Regions from separate parts of the Homo sapiens genome. Here region 2 is linked to region 1. Evidence: promoter capture Hi-C in human tissues and cell types (Jung and others, 2019). All regions are on one chromosome and are shown on one strand. The core of a region is centred on a gene start or on the middle of the fragment in contact, and the rest is flanking DNA. Distances in the headings are between cores, read along the strand shown. Region 1 holds the start of PLVAP (plasmalemma vesicle associated protein). Region 2 holds the start of NR2F6 (nuclear receptor subfamily 2 group F member 6).

What was found. The method cuts DNA at HindIII sites, captures the fragments that hold promoters and counts their contacts. A contact is called where the count stands out against the background at its distance.
Region 2: a contact is called between a fragment that was not itself captured here and the fragment with the promoter of PLVAP in region 1, in 2 of the 25 tissues and cell types used here (dorsolateral prefrontal cortex and spleen).

Annotation. Positions count from the first base shown.
Region 1 is chr19:17,371,277-17,378,594 of GRCh38, reverse strand. PLVAP (plasmalemma vesicle associated protein) reads left to right here and starts at 1,253. Exons shown (of 6, transcript NM_031310.3): 1 at 1,253-1,675. The coding sequence starts at 1,307. The HindIII fragment of the contact is 34,336 bases long and covers 1-7,318 here.
Region 2 is chr19:17,240,285-17,246,867 of GRCh38, reverse strand. NR2F6 (nuclear receptor subfamily 2 group F member 6) reads left to right here and starts at 949. Exons shown (of 4, transcript NM_005234.4): 1 at 949-1,925; 2 at 6,103-6,197. The coding sequence starts at 1,648. RefSeq lists silencers at 229-308, 709-958, 1,359-1,518, 1,529-1,598 and an enhancer at 16-965. The HindIII fragment of the contact is 5,712 bases long and covers 1,084-6,583 here.

The DNA.
Region 1 (7,318 bases), core at 4-2,503:
TGAGCCACTATGCCCGGCCGCCCATGGGGTTTTGAGTGTCGGGGGAGGAATCTCAGTCCCACGTATCCACCACTTGTCATTCACCATCTCACGGAGCCCCCAGCAGTGCCTCCAGCAGGAAATGATCCTAATCATAACAACAGCCACAGAGTGACGAGGCACTGGGTATACCCCGTCTCACAAAGGGGAAAAGGGAGGCACAGACATGCGAGGCCTCTTGCCCGAGCTCTCCCGGGACAAAGCCAGCTCTTCCCCGCTCCAAGTTCATTATTCCTTGTGCTGCAGTTTCCTGGAGCATTTACTGAGCATCTAAGTGAACAGGGCACTGGGGGCAATGACAGAGCTTGGGGAGCCAGCGCCACCGCCATCCATGGCTCAGCCCTCCGTGACGCCCTCCTATGCAATTACTAATCACCTACTGCTTCTCCATCCCTAGGCTAGCTAAGAGTTTCACACTTTTTCTGTTTTTTTTTTTTTTTGAAACAGAGTCTTGCTCTATACCCCAGGCTGGAGTGCAATGGCACGATCTCTGCTCACCGCAACCTCCGACTCCTGGGTTCAAGCGATTCTCCTGCCTCAGCCTCCTGGGTAGCTGGAATTACAGGCGAGCACCACCACACCTGGCTAAGTTTTGTATTTTTAGTAGAGACGGGGGGTTTCACCACGGTGACCGGGTTGGTCTCAAACTTCTGACCTCAGGTGATCCGTCCGCCTCAGCCTCCCAAAGTGCTGGGATTATAGGCGTGAGCCACCGTGCCTGGCACATTTCCCACGTTTTGTGGCACTTAATCAGCACCGCCCTGGTGAAGTGGGTGCACGTCTGTAGCCAGCCTGTCTTGAGGTAAGTCAAGTTCGCTGAACTAACAGCGTGAGACCCCGAGGCAACCCCTTCTCCTCCCTGTGCCTCAGTTTCCTCCGCCACACAAGGGAGACAGCAACAGACCTGGCATGATTCAGCGACCTAATCACAGCAGGTACTGAGAACAGCACCCGCCAGCAAGTAAAGGCGAACGCGAGGCTCGAAGAGGCCAGGAATGCCTGACCAGCCAGCCAGCGCCCCACCCAGCATTAATCAGAGGGGTCCAGCCGGTGCCCTGGCTCTGGGCCCCCAGCCCCACCCCCGCCTTCTCACAGCCAGAGTGGGAGTGTTGTGATAACCCGCAGCCCCCGTTTCCTCCGGGCCAGGAAGGAGCCAGGCAGAGGAAGTATTAAGAGGAGTAATATAAGCACTCCCCCCTGCGAGGCGGGGGCCAGAGCAGGCCTGGTGGTGAGCAGGGACGGTGCACCGGACGGCGGGATCGAGCAAATGGGTCTGGCCATGGAGCACGGAGGGTCCTACGCTCGGGCGGGGGGCAGCTCTCGGGGCTGCTGGTATTACCTGCGCTACTTCTTCCTCTTCGTCTCCCTCATCCAATTCCTCATCATCCTGGGGCTCGTGCTCTTCATGGTCTATGGCAACGTGCACGTGAGCACAGAGTCCAACCTGCAGGCCACCGAGCGCCGAGCCGAGGGCCTATACAGTCAGCTCCTAGGGCTCACGGCCTCCCAGTCCAACTTGACCAAGGAGCTCAACTTCACCACCCGCGCCAAGGATGCCATCATGCAGATGTGGCTGAATGCTCGCCGCGACCTGGACCGCATCAATGCCAGCTTCCGCCAGTGCCAGGGTGACCGGGTAAGGCTGTGGGCAGGACACTCGCCCTGGGGACCCTGAGCAAGCCCCCTCACCTCTCTGAGCCTGAGTTTCCTCATCCAAGAGAGGGGGACGATCACAGGACCAATGCTCTCTTTTCTTATGAGACAGAGTCTCGCTCCGTCTCCCAGGCTGGAGTGCAGTGGTGCAATCTCGGCTCACTGCAACCTCTGCCTCCTGGGTTGGAGTGATTCTCCTGCCTCAGCCTCCCGAGTAGCTGGGATTACAGGCATGTGCCATCATAACCGGCTCATTTTTGTATTTTTAGTAGAGATGGGGTTTCACCATGTTGGCCAGGCTGGTCTCAAACTCCTGACCTCAAGTGATACGCCTGCCTTGGCCTCCCAAATTGTTGGGATTACAAGCGTGAGCCACTGCACCCGGCCGATAGATTTTTTTTTTTTCCTTAAGAGACAGGGTCTCCATGTGTATCCTGGGCTGGATGGAGTGCAATTGCTATCACAGCTCACTGCAACCTCAATCTCCTGGACTCAAGTGATCCTCTTGCCTCAGCCTCCTGAGTAGCTGGGACTACAGGCGTGCACCACCACACCCAGCTAATATGTTTATATTTAGCAGAGATGAGGTCTCACTATGTTGCCCAGGCTAGTCTCGAACTCCTGGGCTCAAGCAATCCTCTCACCCCAGCCTCCCAAACTGCTGGGATTACAGGTGTGGGGCACTGCGTCCAGCTAAATTTTTTTTATTTCTTTTCTTTTTTTTGGAGGCAGGGTCTCACTCTGTCACCCAGGCTGGAGCACAGTGATGTGAGCATAGCTCACTGAAGCCTTGACATCCTGGGCTCCAGCAATCCTCCTGCCTCAGCCTTTTGAGTAGCTGGCACTATGGACATGCCACTATGCCCAGGTCATTTTTTATTTTTAGTAGACGTGGGGTCTCGCTATGTTGATCAGGCTGGTCTTGAACTCCTGGGCTCAAACAATCCTCCCTCCTGGACCTCCCAAAGTGCTGAGATTACAGGTGGGCACCACCACACCTGGCAATTTTTTTTTTTTTTTTTGAGACGGAGTCTCGCTCTGTCACCCAGGCTGAAGTGCAGTGGCACAATCTCGCCTCACTGCAACCTCCACCTCCCAGGTTCAAGTGATTCTCCTGCCTCAGCCTCCTGAGTAGCTGGGATTACAGGCGTGTGCAACCATGCCAGCTAATTTTTGTATTTTTAGTAGAGACGGGGTTTCACCATGTTTGCCAGGCTGGTCTCAAACTCCTGACCTCAAGTGAGCCACCCACCTCGGCCTCCCATAGTGCTGGGATTACAGGCATGAGCCACCGTGCCCTGACCTGGTGCCCTGGCTAACTTTTTTTTAGAGACAGAATCTCACTATGCTGCTGAGGCTGGTCTTGAACTCCTAGGCTCACCCTCCTAAAGTGCTGAGATTACAGGCATGAGCCACCATTCCCAGCCAGCAACATTTTTTTTAAACTGTAAGTATATTCCATGCAATATTTGAGATATAATTTTGAAAATAATATTCATTGTCTTTTTGGAATCCAAGTTTAATTCTCCTCCTGTGTGTTAATTGGCAGTCCTGAGCCCATAACTTACTATGCATGAAGCTCCCAGAATGTGCCAGCACTAATCAAAGGGGTCCAGCACACACAAGCTGCAAATAAGTGGCTGAAGACCGGCTACAGTAGCTCACACCTGTAATCCCAGCACTTTGGGAGACCGAGGCAGGAGGACCACCTGAGTCCAGGAATTTGAGACCAACCTGGGCAACATGGTGAAACCCTGTCTGTACAAAAAGTACAAAAATTAGGCCAGGCATACTGGCTAACACCTGTAATCCCAGCACTGTGAGAGGCCAAGGTGGGTGGATCACTTGAGGTCAGAAATTTGAGACCAGCCTGGCCAACCTAGTGAAACCCCGTCTGTACTAAAAATACAAAAATTATTAGCCGGGTATGGTGGTATGTGCCTGTAGTCCCAGCTACTCGGGAGGCTGAGGCAGGAGAATCACTTGAACCTGGGAGGCAGAGATTGCAGTGAGCCGAGATCTCACTACTGCACTCCAGCCTGGGCAACAGAGGGAGACTCTGTCTAAAAATAAATACATACATACATACATACATACATACATACAAAAATTAGTCAGGCATGGTGGCACATGCCAGTAGTCCCAGCTACTTGGGAGGCTGAGGTGGGAGGATCACTTGAGCCCAGGAGGTCAAGGCTGCAGTGAGCCAAGATAGTGCCACTGTACTCCAGCCTGGGCGACTGAGTGAGACCCTGAATGGAAAAAAAAAAACAAAAAAAGGATGGACTGAATAAAAGTTCACAGTGTTTTGTTCCTGTTCAATTCTAGCATGTATAAACAGTCCATATTTGCTGTATGCTGGGTGTTGAATTTAGAAATATTAACTCATTGCCAAATCCCGGGAAGTAGGGAGAAGCTTTTGTTGTTTTGTTTTGTTTGAGATGGAGTCTCACTCTTTCACCCAGGCTGGAGTGCAGTGGCGCAGTCTCGGCTCACTGCAAGCCCCACCTTCTGCGTTCATACCATTCTCCTGCCTCAACCTCCTGAGTAGCTGGGACTACAGGCGCCCGCCGTCATGCCTGGCTAATTTTTCTATTTTTAGTAGAGACCGGGTTTCACTGTGTTAGCCAGGATGGTCTGGATCTCCTGACCCTGTGATCCACCCGCCTCGGCCTCCCAAAGTGCTGGGATTACAGGCGTGAGCCACCGTTCCCGGCTGTTTTGTTTTATTTTGTTTTGTTTGAGACAGGGTCTCCCTCTGTTGCCAAGGCTGGAGTGCAGTGGAAGGTCTCGGCTCACTGCAACCACTGCCTCCCAGGCTCAAGCGATTCTGTTGCCTCAGCCTCCCGAGTAGCTGGGATTGCAGGTGCGCCCCACCATGCCCGGCTAAGTTTTGTATTTTTAGTAGAGATGGGGTTTCACCATGTTGGCCAGGCTGGTCTCAAACTCCTGCCTTCAAGTGATCCACCTGCCTTGGCCTCCCAAAGTGTTGAGATTACAGGAGTGAGCCATTGCGCCTGGGCAGCAGAAGTTTTAAACCCTTTGCAGGCAGGAAAGTGAAGGCATGAGAGGGGAGGTGACTTTCTTGAGGTGGCAGAAACAGGCGGGCTCTCTGGGCAAAGTCACAGCTGCAAATCTGGGGTCTCCTGGAGACCATCGCGCCACTCTCGCACCCCGGCTTGTGTCAAACTCACTAGACAATTATCCCCGTGTTCTCAGACACAACTTCATCCAGGGGGTGTCCCGCCTGCCCTGAGACATTGTGGGGAGCAGGTGTGGGGCTCTCTCCTTAAGGGTGAGGTGGGTGAGAGATGGGAGGGTGGGGTGAGGGAAGGCTGAAGAGGCAGCTTCAGGGTCTTCCAAGGAGGTGACCTGGCTGGCCAGGGCCCAGGCAGTGGCAAAGACAGACCTCCCATAGGACCTCAGACCACCCAGCCGTCCGCACTGGGCAGGAAGGTAAGCTCAGCCCCCTCAGTCCTGCTCAAGGCAGAACTCAGTCTCCTCACCTCAGACCCCTAATGGCGGGGCCCTACCTCCACCTCAACCCCTCGCCCAGAGCCCCAGGGGTAGGGCCCTGTCTCTATCCGCCAAAACCCCGGGGCAAAGCACCGTCTCCCCAGATGCCCAGAGTATGGTAGGTCTCACCTCAGCCCCCCAAGATGGGGTGGAACACCCCTCAGTCCCCAGGGCATAACTGTGCCCCTCCCTCAGACCCTCCCAATAGGGTCCTGCCTGCCCCTTAGATCCTCAGATTAGAGCCCTGCCTCCCCTCTCAGACCTGAACCTGGCTAACTGGTGTCTTTTCTTTCTTTTTTTTTTTTTTTTTTTTTTTTTTTTGAGACAGAGTCTAGCTCTGTCGCCAAGGCTGGGGTGCAATGGCGCGGTATCCACTCACTGCAACCTCTGCCTCCTGGGTTCAAGCAATTCCCCTGCCTTAGCCTCCCGAGTAGCTGGGTCTACAGGTGCCCGCCAACATGCCCTGCTAATTTTTTTTTTGTATTTTTAGTAGAGACGGGGTTTCACTATGTTAACCAGGATGGCCTCAATTTCCTGACCTCGTGATCCGCCCGCCTTGGCCTCCCAGTGCTGGGATTACAGGTGTGAGCCACTGCACCTGGCCTGTCTTTTCATTTAAAAAAAAATTATTGGCCGGGTGCAGTGGCTCACACCTATAATCCCAACACTTCGGGAGGCCGAGGTGGGTGGATCACTAGGTCAGGAGATCGAGACCATGCTGGCTAACACAGTGAAACCCCGTCTCTACTAAAAATACGAAAAATTAGCCAGGTGTGGTGGTGGGCGCCTGTAGTCCCAGCTACTCGGGAGGCTGAGGCAGGAGAATGGCATGAACCCGGGAGGCGGAGCTTGCAGTGAGCCGAGATTGCGCCACTGCACTCCAGCCTGGGCGACAGAGCGAGACTCCGTCTCAAAAAATAAATAAATAAATAAATAAAAACATTATTTAATTATTTTATTATTATTATTACTATTTTTGACACAGAGTTTCACTCTGTCGCCCAGGCTGGATTGCAGTGGCGCAATCTCAGCTCCCTACAACCTCTGCCTCCCGGGTTCAAGTGATTCTCCTACCTCAGCCTCCCGAGTAGCTGGGATTACAGGCACCCGCCACCAAACCCAGCTAATTTTTTGTATTTTTAGTAGAGATGGGGTTTCCCCATGTTGGCCAGGCTGGTCTGGAACTCCTGATCTCAGGTGATCCACCTGCCTCAGCCTCCCAAGACACCTCTTCTCTATAAAAAATAAACTAAAAATTAAAAAAGAAACTTAAAAATCACATCCTTTTTTTTTTTTTTTTTTTTTAGAGACATGGTGTCACTACATTGCCGAGGCTGGTCTCGAACTCCCAGCCTCAAGCAGTGTTCCCACCTCAGCCTCCTAATGACTAAGGCTTTTGAGAACAGAAGGCATTCCCCATGTCCCCCCAGGACATTCACCCAGGGCCAACTGCAAAAGGATGAAGGACAGAGAGTTGCAGAAAGACAAACTCTCCTGATTCTTCATGTCTTATTATATTTCTGCAGAGGGTTCTCTTCCAAAGTTTGAAAGGCATGGCTTTAGTTTGTTAAATTGTGAACACTTTCTTTAAAAACAGCTTTGCTGGCCAGGCGTGGTGGTTCACACCTGTAATCCCAACATTTTGGGAGGCCAAGGTGGGTGGATTGCTTGAGCTCAGCAGTTTAAGACCAGCCTGGGCAACATGGTGAGACCCCATCTCTATAAAAAATTAGCCAGGAGTGGTGGCACGTGCCTGTAATCCCAGCTACTTGAGAGACTGAGGTGGGAGGATTGCCCGAGCCTGGGGAGGCTGAGGCTGCAGTGAGCTGTGATCACACCACCACACTCCAGCCTGGGTGGCAGAGTGAGACCATGTCTCAAAAAAAATAAAATTAAATTAAAATAAAAATAGCTGGCCGGGCGTGGCAGCTCACGTCTGTAATTCCAGCACTTTGGGAAGTCAAGGCAGGAGACTGAGGCCAGTGGATCACTTGAGGTCAGGAGTTCGAAACCACCTGGCTAACATGGTGCAACCCCGTCTCTACTAAAATACAAAAATTAGCTGGTCATGGTGGTGCACCCCTGTATTCCCAGCTACTTGGGAGGCTGA
Region 2 (6,583 bases), core at 2,690-5,189, 130 kb after region 1:
CCCGGTACTGGGGGATGGGGTGAGTTGGAGGTGGCGGCAGCTGCGAGGCTCCAGGGCGCCTGGAAGAGACATCTGCAGTCCAGCCGGCCGCCAGGCCAAGCCCTTTCTGCAAAGCACAGAAAGAAAAGGAAATTAAAAGGGAAAAAGGGGCAGGCCCCCAGACAGGGCATGCCTGTCGCCTCCAGCCGCGCGGGGCGGGTGGGCGCCCTGCCCCCGGAGGCCAGAAATTCTGCAGAGGGGCCCCCTGACCTCGCGGCCCCGGCCAGCCGGTCTCAGACCACAACATCCCTTCCCCCTGGAGATTCCGGGCACCAGGTGTTAACCCGAGCAGAGAAAGGGTGGGGTGGGGGTCAGACGCGGCGACTTTCTGGAAGAGGAAGCAAACACAATCTAGGGTGTGTGTGTGTGTGTGTGTGTGTGTGTGTGTGTGTGTGTCTGTCTGTCTCGCGCGCGCGTGTGTCTTGCGCAGGGGCGTACCCCCCCCCCGGGTGCCACTGGCCCCCCATCATTGCTTTGCCAGGAACTGTGGGGTGGGGAGAGGTTCCGAGGGGCGCCTCGAGGGTGATCGAGCGACCCAACGTCCAAGGCCAGAGGTGGAGGGGAGGGCCTTGGAGAGACATCTTGGCGAGGCTCAAGGAAGGGCAGAGGGCAGGCGCGGCTGAGGCTCCCGCCGCGGCCCGGCAGGGGTTAAGGCCCGAGCTGGGCGAGGGCGAGGGCGGGGGTGCGGGGGGAGGGGCAGAGGGAGGCGGGGGAGGGTCAGGCCCCGCGGCCCAGCGCTCGGCCCCCGTCCCTCCCGCCGGCCCGTTCGCCCGGCGCCGCGCGCGGCCACCCATGCCCTTATAAGGGCGGCCGTCGCCGGGGCAACGAGCGCCCGCCCCCAGCCCGCGGCGCGCGCCCCTGCCCCCGCCCCCGCCCCCCGCCCGCCCCGCGAATGGAACGCTGTGTGTCAAACCGGCCGCAGCGCGAGGCCGGCGCGCGGGGTCGGTGGCGGTGGCGGCGGCGAGAGCGAGGCTTGGGCCCAGGCGCAGGCCCAGGCCAGGCAGGAGCGGCCGCAGCGGGGGCGGCAGCTCCAGAGGCGCCGGCCCAGCGGCCCTGCAGGCCCGGAGCGGCAGCCGCGGGCGCCGGGGGACCCAGGGGGCGCGGCGATCAGCCCCGGCGCGCACCCGCCGCCCCTCCCCCCCCGCCACGGGCGGCCGCGCAACTTGCGGCCAAACTTTCCCCCCGGCCTCCCGCGCTCGGATGGCGGCCCGCTGAGTTGGCCGCAGCCCCCGGGCGAGCGGCGGCCAGGCCAGAGGACGCCCCCTGCGCGGCTCGGGCCGGGCCATGGCCCGCGCGCCCCCGCCGGGGCCCCAGGGCGGCGGGACGCGAGTCCTCTGGGCCCCCGGCCCGCGCCTCTAGCGTGCCCCTCCCGGCCCCGGGCCCGGCCCCGCGCACGCGTGGGAAAGTTGGCCTGGAACCGGCCCGACCAGTTCCGCCCGGGCGCGAGGACCGGCCGCAGGAAGTTGCTGCAAAACTTTTTTGGGGGGTGCAGCCCGTGCCCCCCGCGCGCCGGGGCCGAATGCGCGCCGCGTAGGGTCCCCCGGGCCGAGAGGGGTGCCCGGAGGGAAGAGCGCGGTGGGGGCGCCCCGGCCCCGCTGCCCTGGGGCTATGGCCATGGTGACCGGCGGCTGGGGCGGCCCCGGCGGCGACACGAACGGCGTGGACAAGGCGGGCGGCTACCCGCGCGCGGCCGAGGACGACTCGGCCTCGCCCCCCGGTGCCGCCAGCGACGCCGAGCCGGGCGACGAGGAGCGGCCGGGGCTGCAGGTGGACTGCGTGGTGTGCGGGGACAAGTCGAGCGGCAAGCATTACGGTGTCTTCACCTGCGAGGGCTGCAAGAGCTTTTTCAAGCGAAGCATCCGCCGCAACCTCAGCTACACCTGCCGGTGAGCCCCCCATCCGCGCGCCGCCGCCGTGCACCCCGCCCCGACCTGGGGCAGGCCTCTGACCTGCTCGGTCACCTTGGGCCTGGCGCTGACCTTCCCTGGGCCTCCACTGCCCCCTCTGAGATAGGGGCACAGCACCCTCCTCCCGCATTCCATGGCTGGGATTGTGTATACAGTCGGCGCTACATCGTTGCAGGTTCCCCCCCCATCAGGTGGTCCCTGGAGGCTTTTGCCCCAGTTACTTGCTTCTCCTTCCCTCCGCTTTTTCTCTGGGGAGGGGTCATCTCCGCGCTGGGGTGGGGGTAGGGGTGCTGTCAGGGGTGGTAACCCAACCCCAGGGCACCCGTTCTCGGGGATCCCGGCGCGCGGGATGCCCTCGAGGGAATCGAACGTGGAACTTGGACCGTGGAGCTCGCAGCGTCCAGGGGCCATTGTCTGCGGCCGCGCGGATCGATACGGCGCGCCCTTGGGGTCAAATATCACTTCCAAAGTCGCTGTGGCTACGGAGGCGGCAGACGGAGGGAGGCTGGGGTGGCACGGGGCGGCCTTCTTCGCATGAGGGGCCCAGCGGTGGGGGTGGGGGTGGGAGCTGGGCTTGCCCATCTCAGGGAACCCCTCTGGGCTCACTCTGGGCCTTGGGTCACCGGAAATCGCCACTGGAAGGCCGGCAGGGCCACCGGAATTGACTGAAACGTCCCTCTCCCCCAGGGGTGGGTGCAGACCTGGGGCTCCTGGAAAAATCCCTCAAACTTTGGGTGTCTCTGAGACGGGCAGGGAGTGAAACGTTTCCGAGCAGGAGCCTTGGGCTGTCCCAGGTCGGAGACCTCTCTGGCAGGGCGTGGCCTTGCTAGCTGTTCTGGCGGAAGGTCCCCAGGGAAAGCGATCGGGGTTGTCCAGCCCGGGAGTTCTTTTCTCACCGTTCCCGGGCGAGCATCCGATCTGTCCGTTTATAAGCCCCTACTCTGCACCCCAGGAACATGCAGGGTCTCTGTGGAGCCCGTCTAGACGGTCTCAGTTCCCAGCTGCCCAAAACAGAGGCCCAAAGGCCCAGAGAGAGGTCCTGGTGCCTGCTTTGCGTTGGACATGGAGGGACGCTGCCCGAGTTGGGGGCACTGTGGGGGAACTGTGGGGCTAGGGTGGGGACCGCTGAGTTCGGATCGGAGTGGCCCCAGGGAGAACGGCTGATGGAAGGCTTGTTGGCTGAGGCCACCAAATAGGGCCCCAGGTACCCGAGGGTGGAGTTTGGCCCCAGGTCCCGGGTCAGGGCTGGCCTGGTGTGGCCATGTGTGGCAGAGCTGCCTTGCTCCCTCCTCCAGCACAAAGTGGGCCACTAGACTTTGGCCTCATTCTTGCTGCTGGAAAACCGCCTGCTCTCTGGTCATATCTTTAGGGAGGGTAAGGGAGGGGGGCTCAGGCAGTTTTGGGGTCCCAGGAGCTTCCTGAGGGTGGTGTCAGGGAGCAGCAATTTTGGGTGGGGGGGGCCTTGCTTGGAGCTGACAGGTTTGTGCTGTGTCAGTTGTGTGACCTGGTGAAATCACCATTCCATTCTGAGCTTCAAATGGATTGAGCAGGGTCTCGCTGGGGCCCAGCCTGGGTAGTTTGATGCCAGCCCCTCCAGAGAGACCCCAGCTCCAAGTCTAGCTCCTGAGAAGCCCCCAGTCTGGAGGAGACACAGTGAGACAGATGCCCCAAGTCTGTGGGATCTGGGGTCCCAGGGAGAGAGCAGAGGCTCTGCCTGGAGGTCAGAGAGGGCTGCCTGGAGGAGGCTAGGGGACATGAGCCTTGAAGCATGGAGTTGGCAGGTGGAAGAAAGGCCACAGGGACATGCCAGAATGTGGTCCAGACAAAACACTTAGTGGCAGACTGGGGGAGCTGTGCTGTAAGAGGGGGACTGTGCAGCCATGGGAGAAGTCAGAGCTAGGTGGGCCTGAAATGCTGGCTGAGGGTAATGGGGAGCCATAGAGGGTGTGTGAGCAGGAGAGGGCTCTGATCAAATTGGACTGGAGGCCAGAAGCCCAGGGAGGAAGCTGAGTTGGGCCATGGGGTTGGGCAAAAAAGCTTGCACTCTTTAGGTGGGATAACAGGAAGAACTTAACTGTTTCCCTCCTTGGAGGGATGGATCTGTCCCAATTCCACAGCTGGGGAAGTTGAGACTGAAGGTTCAGGGCCTCCCCTGAGGTCAGGGGCCCCTGAGCTGGGCCTCTGCCTGCCTGCAGGGCCGCCCCAGGCCAGGCCGTTTCCACCCGGCTGCCCTGGACCCTCCCACCACCCAGCCGCTGGGCTTTGTTCTGGTTCTGCCTGAGCTCCCTCTGCCCTAGTGGGGCCTCTTCCCAGGGGCTCAGTGGCTGGTGCTGCAGGACCCAGGCAGTGGTGGAGGGGGGGTACGGGGGAGTGGGCGCAGATCCTCAGCTTTCCTAAGTTGGGTTCTCCGGCTGGGCTCTGGGTCTTGGCACTGTCCCCCGTGAACCCCTCTGACCCAGTCCATCCCATATGATAGGGCAATATCTGACCTCCCATTTTCAGATGAGGAAACCGAGGCTCAGTGGGGCAGTCGCCACCTGAGGGGCAGGGCTGGGTATCTGCAGCTGAGATTCATCTGTTTTGTTTTGTTTTGTTTTGTTTTTGAGACGGAGTTTCACTCTTGTTGCCCAGGCTGGAGTGCGATGGCGTGATCTCAACTCACTGCAACCTCTGCCTCCCGGGTTCAAGCGGTTCTCCTGCCTCAGCCTCCCAAATAGCTGGGATTACAGGCATGCGCCACCATGCCCGGCTAATTTTGTATTTTTAGTAGAGACAGGTTTTCTCTATGTTGTTCAGGCTGGTCTCAAACTCCCAACCTCAGGTGATCCGCCCGCCTCGGCCTCCCAAAGTGCTGGGATTACAGGCATGAGCCACTGCACCCAGCCTTTTTTTTTTTCTTTTTTTTTGAGACAGAGTCTCACTCTGTCACCCTGGCTGGAATGCAGTGGGTCAATCTTGGCTCACTGCAACCTCCACCTCCCCAGTTCAAGCGATTCTCCTTCCTCAGCCTGCCAAGTAGCTGGGATTACAGGCATGCGCCACCACGCCCAGCTCATTTTTGTATTTTTAGTAGAGACGGGGTTTCACCATGTTGGCCAGGCTGGTCTTGAACTGACCTCAGGTGATCCACCCTCCCCCGCCTCCCAAAGTGCTGGGATTACAGGCGTGAGCCACTGCAGAGATGCATCTGTTTAATTCCCTTAAGTGGTGGTTCTACTCTGTGACTGTCTCTGTGTGTCCCCTGGGTGTCCAGCTGGAACCCCAGGGGTAGTTGCTCCAGGCCCAGGCCTTGGAGAGCCCCCAGCTCCTGGTGGCAAGAGACCAGGGGAGTCCAAGGGCAGGGGCCAAGGGGAGAAGGTTCTGGGGACATTTGAAGAATAAGGCCTGGACCTTCCTGCTTGGGGGCTGACCCAGGATGGGGAGCTCACCACCTCTCAGGGTGGGGCCACCTGTCTCATCCCTGCAAGAGGCAACGGCATTCACTGAGGGCTGACCAGGAAAATCTCCAGCTTGCATAGGGGTTGGGTGGTCCTCTCGGAAGAGCGTAGGTGTGGGGCCTTCAGGGCTGAGGACCAGAGTGACTTTGTTTACTTCCTCATTCCTTGGGGTGGGCATTGTGCGGGTGATAATGCTGGGGCCCCACAATGCTATGACCCCACAGACCACTAGCCCCTGGCCTGACCCCTAGTTAATTCACAAAGTCCAGCTCTCTGACCATGTCCTCTTTGCCTTCACATCTTTTTGGGGACAATGACCCTGCTCAGCCTGACAGTGACCAAATAAAATGAAACTCTTTAGGCCTCCATATTTGTGTATTTCAACCCTTTTGCTCTGGCTGTACCCTCTCTCTGGGATCACCCCGCCATTCACCTGGAGAACTCCTATTCATCCTTCAAAACCCATGCCAATGTGCCCTCCCTGGGGTGTTCATCTGCTTTTCCACAGATTCCTCTTCATCCATCACCACTCATCCGGGTTATCCTGTCTGGTTTGCAGACCTGCAAGCTGAGCTCCTGTACCCCTTTGGGGCTACCTCTCCAGTCTAGAGGGCCCCTACTAGTATTTCTGAGGGGCAGCCTCCAAAGGCGGCTCATAGGCTGGTTCGGGGAGGAGGATATGGGGGTCTCAGGGAGCCCTGGCTTCTGTGTGCCCCCAGGTCCAACCGTGACTGCCAGATCGACCAGCACCACCGGAACCAGTGCCAGTACTGCCGTCTCAAGAAGTGCTTCCGGGTGGGCATGAGGAAGGAGGGTGAGTACGTGCTGGGGACACACTGGGGACGATCACAGCCGCTGGAGCCGGGGTGAACAAACAGCTTCTTCCTCCCCTTTTTCCCCTCCCTTTCACCCCTCCCTTTCACAGGGGTCTGGGTGCCTCACAGGGTGGGGGCCGGCGCCTGCTAACCTCATTACCACTGATCCCTTGATCCCGTGGGCTGCAGTCTGGCCCTAGGCTGGAGGAATCCAATTAGGATCCGTGGCCCCCTGGTTGCTGCCGTGGAGCTGAAGAGGCCAGGGACGCCCCACAAGGGACTTTCCCCAGCCCCATTCTCTTGCAGGAGCTGCCTTCCCCAATTACCCCCGACTCCAGCCTCAGAGGCCAGTTCCCTGGCCCTGACACCTTGGTGACCTCTTGTC